Regions from separate parts of the Homo sapiens genome. Here regions 2 and 3 are each linked to region 1. Evidence: promoter capture Hi-C in human tissues and cell types (Jung and others, 2019). All regions are on one chromosome and are shown on one strand. The core of a region is centred on a gene start or on the middle of the fragment in contact, and the rest is flanking DNA. Distances in the headings are between cores, read along the strand shown. Region 1 holds the start of GPRIN2 (G protein regulated inducer of neurite outgrowth 2). Region 2 has its middle 41 kb from the start of NPY4R. Region 3 overlaps SYT15 (synaptotagmin 15).

Region 1 (3,608 bases), core at 1-2,500:
AAACCCCCATTGCACAGTGGGGATACAGCACCCTCCAGGAGGTGGTTTAATCCACCCCAGAGTGAACGGGGCCTGATAGGAACACTCAGGGCCAACTCTGGGCAAAGCAGCAGGCAGCATTCCTAAAGGGAGGGTTTGGAGGAGACAAAACCTGCCCTTCACAATGAACGTGCCTTAAGGGCTACATGCCCCGGGTCACAAGCTGTGCCAGGAAAGGGTTCTGGGGTAACTGTGGGGTCAGTGGCCCCATGGATGAGGCTCTGCTCACCAGGAAGAGGCCTAGGCGCCCAACAGCCCCTGAGCTTCCTCCCCTGGGGAGGATTTGCCCACAATCCCTGGGGGGCACCTAGGTGGAGAGGGTGCCCCGGCCTAGAAGCAGCCTAGGCGGCCGGTGTGTCCCTATCTGCACGCTCACAAGCACTCATGCCCCAGCCTGGGACACACAGGCCCGTATGCAGTAACAGCGTCTACCCAGCTGCACTCTGCACGCCAAGCACAGGCCGCCCCTGCTGCGGGGCCAAAGGCCTGAAAGCACCGCACCACGCAGCCTCGCCCAGAATAGCTCCCCTCCCGCCCCTCCTGCACAAAGCCCACCCGGACTTAGGGAGAAGGGGGCTCAATACGGGCCCGAAACGAGGCTACAGACCTTCTCAGGAGCAAAGGCAGCGACTGCAGGCAAATGGGGCTGTGGGCCGGGGTAATGATGCGGGACAGGAGAAGCCAAAGGGCAGCAAGGCTGGGGGCGGGGTAGGCGGCGCAGTAGGCTGAGGGAGGGGAAAAGGAAGAAGGGGAGAGGGAGGAGCGATGGCAGCAGGGGTGGAGGCCGAAGGAGACAGGGTCCCGGACAGACTTGTGAAAATGGGAGGATGGGCAGAGGAGACGTAGAAGAGGGGACAGGACAGGACAATGAGAGGCGGAGCGCGGGGAGTGCGATGCGGCCACCGGGGGCTCTGGGCGCTGGGCAGGGGCCAGGATGCCGGGGGTCTGAGCGCAGGCAGCGGGAAGGAGTGGGTTCTGAGGCTCAGCAAGGGGGAGGTGCCGCCCACCACGCCCCCCGCCCCAACGGGAGCGCGCGGAGCCAGCCTCTCACCCTCTCGCCCGCCGGGGCCGCGCAGGCGGGGGAAGCGCTGCTCCTGCGGCCGCCACAGGTGCCAGGTGCCGCGGCCCAAGATGGAGCCAGAGCCGACCTGGCCTGGGCGCGAGACGCCGCCCGCCGCCGTCGGCCCGGCCCGCGGAGCAAGCGCCGGGTACAGGGAGGGGCCAGCGGGGCAGCTGGCACCGGGGCGGCGGGAGGGGCGGCGGGCGGAGACCTCGCTCACCTGGGCCCGTGCCACTCTGGAGCCTGCCACCGCCCCGCCGCGGCCCGGGATCTGCGTCCGCGCGCCCCCACCCCTCCTTCCCGACCCCTCCTCAGGCCGGGTCCCCACTGTCCTCGGTCTTTTCGGCCCCGCCCGCACCACGACCGCCTGTTCTCCAGGCTGCCCAGCGAACCCCCAAGACTCCCACTTCCCCGACGCAACCCCACCGTCCCGGGTGTATAGGCGCAGCTCCCCACGATTCTCCGGCCCCAGACCCAGCCCCTCAAGTCCACCTCCTCGTAGCCCCACCCCCTCGCTCCAGTGCCCCTCGCTCCAGTTCCCCCTCCGCACCACGCCCCGCATTGAGGTCTCCGCGCCGGCGGCTACCCCTTTCCTCTCGCCTTCTCCATCCTAGCTCCGCCTCTCACAATTCTCTGGCTCCAGATCCCGCCCACGAGACCCCGTTTCCTATAGGGCCCTTTCGTCTGGGATACCAGGCCTGGTCTCCACTAGCCTCGGACTTTCCAGCCCCAGGTCCCAAATCCTGGACCCACCGTCCCATCCTCTGAGCTCCACTCTCATGGACCCCAAACCTCACTCCAGTCCTTTGAACTCCATGATCCTGGCCTGGCCTGGCCCCCGGAGCCCTCCATTGCCCCTCAAGAGCCCAGCCTGGTAGACTCCTTCCCTAGGGTTGCATCTCCAGCCCCGCCCCTGAAGACTGGTAATCTACCACCCCTTTCCCTGCCCACGTGCCCCTACCCAGCCCGACTTGAGGCCTTCAGTCTCCCAGCCGCGGACCCCAACAGCGGGCGAGGGCAGTGACCGTGCGGGGATGAGCCACCTCCACTGGAGCCCGCCTTCTTCTCCGCAATTCCCCGCAGCACCACAGCGCCTTCCCGGTCCCGTGACGCCGGGGGCCAGCCCAGGCCCTGGGATCGCCAGGTTCCACACTATGAGGCTGAGGACCTGGGCCTACGGTTCCCTCAATATCCCCCAGTTTCCACAACCGCTGGCCAGCTTCAGGGCGCAGGACAGGCAGCCCCGGCCTCCCGCCACTCGCAATAGATTCCTGCTGTCCACCCAGGGCCACGTGGTATGAGGCACCTGTACTATCTCTGGGCCCCAGTATCACATAATTGGGTCCCAATGTTGGCACTTCTCCGTTGTCCCCTGTGCCGGGACCCCCAACTTGTTGGCCCAGCCCTGTGCTGAGAGGCCTGCGTTCCTCCCTTCCAGTGCCCAGGAGCCAACAGTATCTCTAATTCTCCCCGTTTGGGTAGCAAAGGACCTCAGTCTGCCCAGAGAGACTCAGACTGCCCCAGGTAGCCCTCTCCAGCGAGGTCTGAGAGCAGCTCTCAGATTCTGGCAGATGGCTGCCTTTGGCCAAATGCCCACAGGGGTGTCGACGTCAGACCCCAGGCTTGGGCCTCACCATCACACACTGCCTGGTAGGGGGATCCTGCTTAAAGGAGGCAAATAGGGGATTTGTTTGCCGAGGCCACTACCCACTTCTGCCCCTGTCCAGGAATTAGGACCTCTGCTTCCACATCTTAGGCATCTTACTCATATTCCCTCTTTAGTGAAGTCAGCTGAGCCCCAAGAAGGGATGGACTGCTTGTGGTTACACTGAGAGTTGGTGCCAGATCCAGGCCCCAAACCTGGGGCTCTCAGCTCCCAGGACATCTCAAGAACCAAGAACCTCACTGTGTGTTTCAAGGAAGCCTTCTTGGGGCTGGGTGTCAGGAGATGTCTGCCATGCAATCTACCTGTGAACACAGCTGGCTGGCCCTCACCCCAGGGCATCACTCCTTGTCCAACTGGCCCCCTTCTTCCATTCATGCCCTGGCAAGGAGGCTCCCCTGGCTGTGGCAGCTGTCCAGGGAGAACCCAGCATGGGGAGTCACACTTAAATTCCAATCTCAACTCCCCCACATATTCACTGGCTGTGCAACCCCACACCCAAGCAAAACTGTTCATCTCTCTGGGCATCAGTTTCCTCATCTGCAGAGTGGTAGTAATTATACCTACCTAACAGGGCTGGGGGAAGAGGGTGTTTGTGAACGTGTCCCGTGGAGTGTTATCGCTGCTATCAGTCACTTGATCAAATATTTACTGAGCTCCTCCTGGGTCAGGTCCTGGAGGTACAAGCTGCACTGCATGGGGGAAGGAAGGGATGGATATGTGTAGATTGCTTTGGTAGAGAGCAGCTCAGGCCTGAGGACCACATGGGCCAACTACCATTTGCTGAGACTCTGAACCCTGACAGAAGAGGAATGAGTGTGGGGTGCACTCAGGGGTCCAGCGGGG
Region 2 (3,608 bases), core at 440-2,939, 50 kb before region 1:
CATAGTAAAAACACTCAGAAAGAATAAAAGAGAATTTCCTCAACCTAATAAAGCGTATATACTAAAAAAGCAGCAACAACAAAAAAAACATAGATAACATCACATTTAATGGGAAAGACAACATGCTTTCCTTCTAAGATCACAAAAGAAACAAGGATGTCTACTCACCACTTCCATTCAACATCATACTGAAGGTTCCAACTATTGCAATTATATAAGGGAAAAAAAGGCACCCAGATAGGAAAGAAAGATGTAAAATGGTCTCAATTGGCAGATGACACGATTTTTCTATGTAGAAAATCCTAAGCAATTCACAAAAAAATTAAAATATGTAAATGAATTCAGCAAGATTTTAGCACATGAGATCAGTTTGCAAAAATCAATTCTGTTTCTATACACTGTCAATGAACAAGACAAAAATGAAATTAGAAAAATAATTCCATTTACAATAACATCAAAAAATACTTAGGAATAAAGATAACAAAAGAAATCCAAATGGTATATTCCGAAAAATATAAAACATTGTTGAAAGAGGTCTTAAAAGATCAAAATAAATGAAAATACATATCATGTTTTTGGACCAGAAGACTTATTGTTAAAGATAGAAATATCCCAGAGTTAATCTATAAGTTCAATGCAATCTCTATCAAAATCCCAGATGACTTCTTTGCAGAAATTGACAAGGCAATCCTCAAATTTATATGGAAAATCAAGGAATGCAGAATAGCCAAAATAATCTTGAAAAAAGAAAAACGAAGCTGGAGTACTCACGTTTTCCACATTCAAAACTTACTAGAAAGCTACAGTAATCTAAACAGTGTGATACTAGCATAAGAACAGATCAATAAAATAGAACTGAGAGTCCAGAAATAAATCCATGATCTATCTACATACATCTATTGTCAATTAACTTTTTTTTTGAGATGGAGGCTTGCTCTATGGCCCAGGCTGGAGTGCAGTGGTGCTATCTCAGCTCACTGCAACCTCCACCTCCCTGGCTCAAGCAATTCTCTTGCCTCAGCCTCCTAAGTAGCTGGAATTACAGACACACACCACCACACCTGGCTAATTTTTGTATTTTTAGTAGATACGGGGTTTTGCCATGTTGCCCAGCTGGTCTCAAACTCCTGAGCTAAAAGTGATCCGCCTGCCTTGGCCTCCCAAAATGCTGGGATTACATGCATGTGAGCCACCAGGCCCAACTGTATTGTCAATTAATTTTTAACAAGAGTGCCAAGACCATTCAATGGGGGAAATAATAATCAAATAATCTCTTCAACAAATGGTGCTGGAACAACTGGATATCCACATGCAAAAGAATGAAGTTGGACTCCCATCTTACACCATATAGAAAAATTAACTTAAAGCGGGTCAACAACCTACATATAAGAGCTAAAGCCATAAAACTCTTAGAAGAAAACATAGGAGTATATCTTCATAATTTTAGCTTTAGCAATAGAGTCTTAGATATGATACCAGAAGCATGAACAACAAAAGAAGAACTAGATAAATTAGACTTCATAAAAATAGTAAACTTTCGAACATCAAAGAAAATTACCAACAAAGTAAAATCATACATCTAATAAAGGTCTGGTATCCAAAGCATTTAAAGAACTCTTACAGCTCATCAGCAAAAACACACAACTCAATTTTAAAATGGGCAAAGACTTGAATAGACATTTCTCCAAAGAAAATATACAAATGCCAACAAGCACATGAAAAGACACTCAATATTTTTATTAATTAGGGAAATGCAAATCAAAATTGCAATGAGGTACCAATTCACACCCACTGTATATATATGTAATAGGTGGATGGATATATATAATATTTATATATAATTATTTATAATATGTATATATAATAATGTTATTATATGATAAATTATATAATACATATATAATTTATTGATTTGAGACAGGCTCTTGCCATGTTATCCAGGCTGGAGTGCAGTGACACCATCACAGCTCACAGTGGCCTGAACCTCCCAGGATCAAGTGATCCTCCACCTCAGCTTCCTGAGCAGCTAAGAGGTACTACAGGCAGGCATAACCATGCCCTACTAATTTCTTAATTTTTTTGTAGAGACAGGATCTCACTATGTTGCCCAGGCTGGTCTCAAATTCCTGGCCTCAAGCTATCCTCCCAAAGTGCTGGCATTAGAGGCATGAGCCACTGCACCTGACTTAGGATGGATATATTTTTTTCAATGGAAAATAACAAGGGCTAACAAGAATGTAGAAAAATTGGAACCCTCAGACATTGTTGGTGAGAATGTAAAATGGCACAACTGCTGAGAAAAGTTTGGTGATTTCTCAAAAACTTAAATATAGAATTATGGTATGATCAAGCAATTCCACTCCTAGGTATATACCCAGAAGAACTGACACTGACTACTCAAACAAGTACATGTATCTTTATAGCAGCACTATGAACAATAGCCAAAAGGTGGAAACAACCCAAATTTCCATAACAAATGAATGGATAAACAAATTGTGATATACAATGGAATAATAGCCATAAAAAGGAATGATGTACTGATACATGCTGGAACATGGATGAGCTACCAATTTACAGGAAACACAGAGGACAGGGGACATGTTGAATAGCACCATGAGAGTGCAGTCAGCAAAATCCAGACTATTGGAAACTCTACAGATCAAATGACCTGGGTCTTGGGAGGGGGTAGGAAAACCTGTGTATTAACCAACTTTTAAAAGATGTATTTTTATAAAATAAGTGAGATTTAATTATAGGGTGTAGGGATATACATGTGGGTAATAATTAGACTATGAAGCAAAGGAAAGGAGTGTCTACTGTAAGTCAAGGTAGTGGTGACTTTGGAGAAGAGAGTGAGGAGGTGCCTCTGGACAAAGTTCTGTTTCTTAGTCTAGGTGGTGGTTACAAAGCTTTACTCTTGTAAAAATCCATTAAGCCATGCATTTGTTTTATGTGGCTTCTTATAGCTTTGTTTATTTGCAAATAATAACCTGGTTCAGAGATTCTGATTCACAGGGTGTGGGGCAGAGTTCAGGAATGCTTTTAAATTTTCCCGTGTTGTGTGCGCACACACACACACGCATACATATATATCTGTCTTCCACACCAGGCTGGTGCCTGTTTGAGGAAGGTCTGTGGCTTGCCTCAATTTGGACTTCCCAACCTCCAGAACTATAAGAAATAAATTTCTGTTCTTTATGAATTACCCAGCCTCAGGTATTCTTTTATAGCAACACAAAACAAACCAAGACAGCTTCTATCTCTCTCCTACTGACCTATGAGCAGGGCATGCTTTGTTTCTGTCTTTGCATTCAGCACCTAGCACACAGTAAGTGCTCTGTAAATGCTGATGAGGCTGGGCTGATACACAGGTGGACTGACAGTGGGCATACCAGACAAGATCCAGTGGCCCCTGAAGCAGTCAACTCACCCACAGCAATGCTGGAGGGCTATGAACTTCCCAATCTCACTGAGGACCACAGGAGCATTCCACCTCTACTGGGCAGTAAAATCCAGAACGCCGGCTGCAGACATTCCACTTAGAGTCATGCCAACATCCTCTCTGGGCCCCACTAGCTTAAGACAGAGCCACAGACACAGGCGTCCAG
Region 3 (3,608 bases), core at 467-2,966, 35 kb after region 1:
AAAACTATGTTGACCTTGTTATCCAGTGAGAGGCTTTGTGACATTCATTTAAATTGTAATAATTTGCAGATTATTTTTGTATAATCATGTCCTCTGTGAATGACAGTTTTATTTCTTCCTTTCTTAATCTTTATGCCTTATTTAGCTCTTGCCAAACTGCAGTGGCTGAGCAATTGGACAAGATAAAGAAATAAAAGTGATCCAGATCATAAAGAAAGAAGTAAAACTATATCTGCACATGACATAATCTTGTCTATGGAAAATCCTAAGGAATCCACACACAAAAAAACTACTAGAGCTAATAAGTTTGGCAAGGTTGCAAGATATAAAATTGGTATACAAATTGCAGTGGCTAGGACCTCCAGCAGAATGCTGACTATAAGTAGTGATAGTGGGTATTCTTGTCTCATCCTCAATCTCAGGGGTGGTGGGTGTGGCATGTGGAGAGTTGTCAATATTCACCATGAAGTTTGATGGTTGTTATAGGATTTTTAATGTACTCATTAACATATATTCTCAAGCTGTTAAAAAGATTTTTTTAATTACAAATAAGGTTAAATTTCTCTCAAATACTTACTCTGCACCTTTTGAAATAATTTTATTTTTCTCCTTTATTCTTTGGATGTGATGACTTATACTAATTGACTGTTGAATGTCAAACCAAACTTAACATTCTTGTAATAGAAACCAGCAGGGTGTGTACACTTTTGTGTGTGTGCGCAGGTTTATACACATAAACACAACAATACTTGGACTTATTTATTTAAAATTTAGATTTATTAGAGGGAGCATGGCCATAAAATAAAATAAAATAAAATTTAGATTTAAGTCGAGCTCAGTGGCTCACATCTATTATCCCCGCACTTTGGAAGGCCAAGGCAGGTAGATTGTCTAAGCTCAGGAATTTGAGACCAACGTGGTGAAACTCGGTCTCTACAAAAACCACAAAAATTAGCCAGGTATGGTGTCACATGCCTGTTGTCCCAGCTACTTGGAGGGCTGGGGCAGGAGTATTGCGTGAGCCCGGGAGGTTAAGGCTGAAGTGAGTCATGTTCACGCCACTGCACTACAGCTTGGATAACAAAGCGAGACTCTGTCTCCAAAAATAAAATAAGTAAATAAATAAATAAATAAAATTTAGATCAATTTGCTGTTATATTTTTATATAAACTATGTTTATGACATAAGTATAAACAAAAAAATAAAATAAGTAAATAAATAAATAAAATTTAGATTAATTTGCTGTTATATTTTTATATAAGCTATGTTTATGACAGACTTTCCTATAATATTCTTATCATAATGTTCTTGCACTTGAAAGAATGTGCATTCTGCAGTTGTGTGCAGGTGTTATGTGTATTTCAACTGGGTCAAGTTTGTTAATCAGGTTGGTCAAATTATCTACATCTTTACTGATATTTTTGTCTGTTTTTCTATAAATTACTGAGAGAGGATAAAGCCTGCCACTGTTATTATGAATTTGTTTATTTCTCCTTTGAGTTTTGTTAGTTTTTGTTTTATGCATTTAGAGGTTGTGTTATTAGGCTCATACCCATTTAAAATTGACGTTTTCTGGTAGAGTGAACCTTTATTATGTGAAATGGCTTTCTCTACCACTCACAATGGTATTTTTTTCACTTTCCCCCTTATTTTTGAATTTTCAATGTTCTTATAATGATGTCATGTCTCTTGAATAGAGTTGTTTTAATCAAGTCTGTCAAATTTTGTCTTTTGTGTATTTCGTGAATTTACATTTATTGTAATTACTGATATAGTTGTGTTCATAAATACCATCTTACTACTTGTTTCCATTTGTCTTACCCATTTTTGTTTTTATTTTTTCTTTTCTGTTGCTTTCTTTCTGATTATTTTTTTAATTCCGTTTCCCCCCCTACCATTGGTTCTACTTACACATTCTTTTATAATTTCTTTAGTGGTTTCCTCCACAGATTACAACTTCTGTACATTATTATAATCTAATACAAATTTTACTTTTTATTGTTTCCCAGACAATGCTATGATCTCACAATACTCAATCTCTATTTACCTCCATTCTACTCTTGCATGTATATTATTATTACTCATTTTAATTTCACATATATTTTACACCTAACGAGACATTATTATTATTGCTATGTGCAGTCAATATTCATTTGTATTCACCCACATATTCACTCTGTTTTTTTTTATTATTTCCTGCATTTCTGTGATTCTATCATAGATCAGTTTTCTTCTACCTGAAGAATTCCCTTTAGTATTTTTTGTGTATGCACATCTGCTGGCAGCAAATTTTCTCAGGTTTTTTTGTGTTTTTTTGTTTGCTTGTTTTTGAGACAGGGTCTCACTCTGTCGCCCAGGCTGGAGTGCAGTGGCATGATCATGGTTCACTGTAGCCTCAACCTCCTAGGTTCAAGCAGTCCTCCCACCTCAGCCTCCCGAGTAGCGGGACTACAGGCAGGCACCACCATACCTGGCTAATTCTTTTGTATTTTTTGTAGAGAAGGGATTTCACCATGTTGCTCAGGCTGGTCTCAAACTCCAGAGCTCAAACAGTCTGCCTGCTTTGACCTCCCAAAGGACTGGGATTACAGGCCACCTCACCCAGCCTTTCTCAGTTTTTGAATAGAAACATCTATTTCAAATTCATTTTTAAGTATATTTTGTGAATATAGGATTACAGGTTGACACTTTTTTCTTTGAGGAACTTCAGAATGGCACTCCATTATCTTCTCACTTCCATCATTTCTGTTGACAAGTGATTTTCAGTGCTATTGTTTCTCCTTTGAGAGTAATGTGTCAGTAACATGCACTGGCTCACGCCCGTCATCCCAGCACCCTTGAGCCCAGGAGTTCAAAACCAGCCCAGGCAACAGAGCAAGATCCCCCCCCTCTACAAAAGAAAATGACAGGAGGGAGGCAGGAAGGAGGAGAGAGGGAGGGAGGGGAAAAGAAAAAAGAAAAGAAGAAATGTGTCCCTCCTACCTGCCTCTAGCTGCTTTTACTGTTTTTTCCTTGTCTTTCATTTGCAGCAGTTTAAGTATAGTGTGCCTGGGTTGGGTGCGGTGGCTCACGCCTATAATCCCAGCAGTTTGGGAGGCCAAGGCCAGTGGATCACCTGAGGTCAGAAGTTTGAGACCAACCTGGCCAACATGGTGAAACCCCGTCTCCACTAAAAAATCCAAAAATTAGCCAGGCATGGTGGCGCGTGCCTGTAATCCCAGCTATTCGGGAGACTGAGGCAGGAGAATCGCTTGACCTTGGGGAGGCGGAGGTTGCAGTGAGCTGAGATCGCGCGCCACCGTACTCCAGCCTGGGTGACAAAGAAAAACTCCGTCTCAAAAAATAATAATAAAAAAAAAGTATAGTGTGCCTGGATGCAGTTTTGTTTTTATTTATCCTGCTTGGGGATCATAAAGCTTTATCAGTTTTGGAAAGTTCTCAGGCTATATTTATTTAACTGTTCCTTCTGCCCCATCTTCCTCCCTTCTAAGACTCCAGTTACATATGTGTTAGGCCTGTTCACCACCTCCCACAAGTATCTTATGTTCTTTGCTGTATTTTCCATACTCTTTGTCTCTGTTCTTCAGCTTAGAGTTTTTATTCTGTCC

The links. Contacts are between HindIII fragments. The study calls those that stand out against the background at their distance.
Region 2: a fragment that was not itself captured here is called in contact with the fragment with the promoter of GPRIN2 in region 1 in 11 of the 25 tissues and cell types used here (H1 embryonic stem cells, IMR-90 fibroblasts, bladder and 8 more).
Region 3: a contact is called between a fragment that was not itself captured here and the fragment with the promoter of GPRIN2 in region 1, in 3 of the 25 tissues and cell types used here (liver, spleen and stomach).

The regions. Positions count from the first base shown.
Region 1 is chr10:46,555,408-46,559,015 of GRCh38, forward strand. GPRIN2 (G protein regulated inducer of neurite outgrowth 2) reads right to left here and starts at 1,251. Exons shown (of 3, transcript NM_001385282.1): 1 at 1,091-1,251. RefSeq lists enhancers at 582-1,287, 1,993-2,698. The HindIII fragment of the contact is 19,539 bases long and covers 1-3,608 here.
Region 2 is chr10:46,505,425-46,509,032 of GRCh38, forward strand. No RefSeq gene overlaps it. Among named protein-coding and RNA genes, the nearest start is that of NPY4R, 41 kb to the left of the region's middle. The HindIII fragment of the contact is 6,119 bases long and covers 1-3,608 here.
Region 3 is chr10:46,590,258-46,593,865 of GRCh38, forward strand. It overlaps SYT15 (synaptotagmin 15), which reads left to right. Exons shown (of 8, transcript NM_031912.5): 8 at 1-1,807. The region is part of intron 1 of SYT15-AS1 (SYT15 antisense RNA 1); the gene reads right to left. Among named protein-coding and RNA genes, the nearest start is that of SYT15-AS1, 6.1 kb to the right of the region's middle. The HindIII fragment of the contact is 7,676 bases long and covers 1-3,608 here.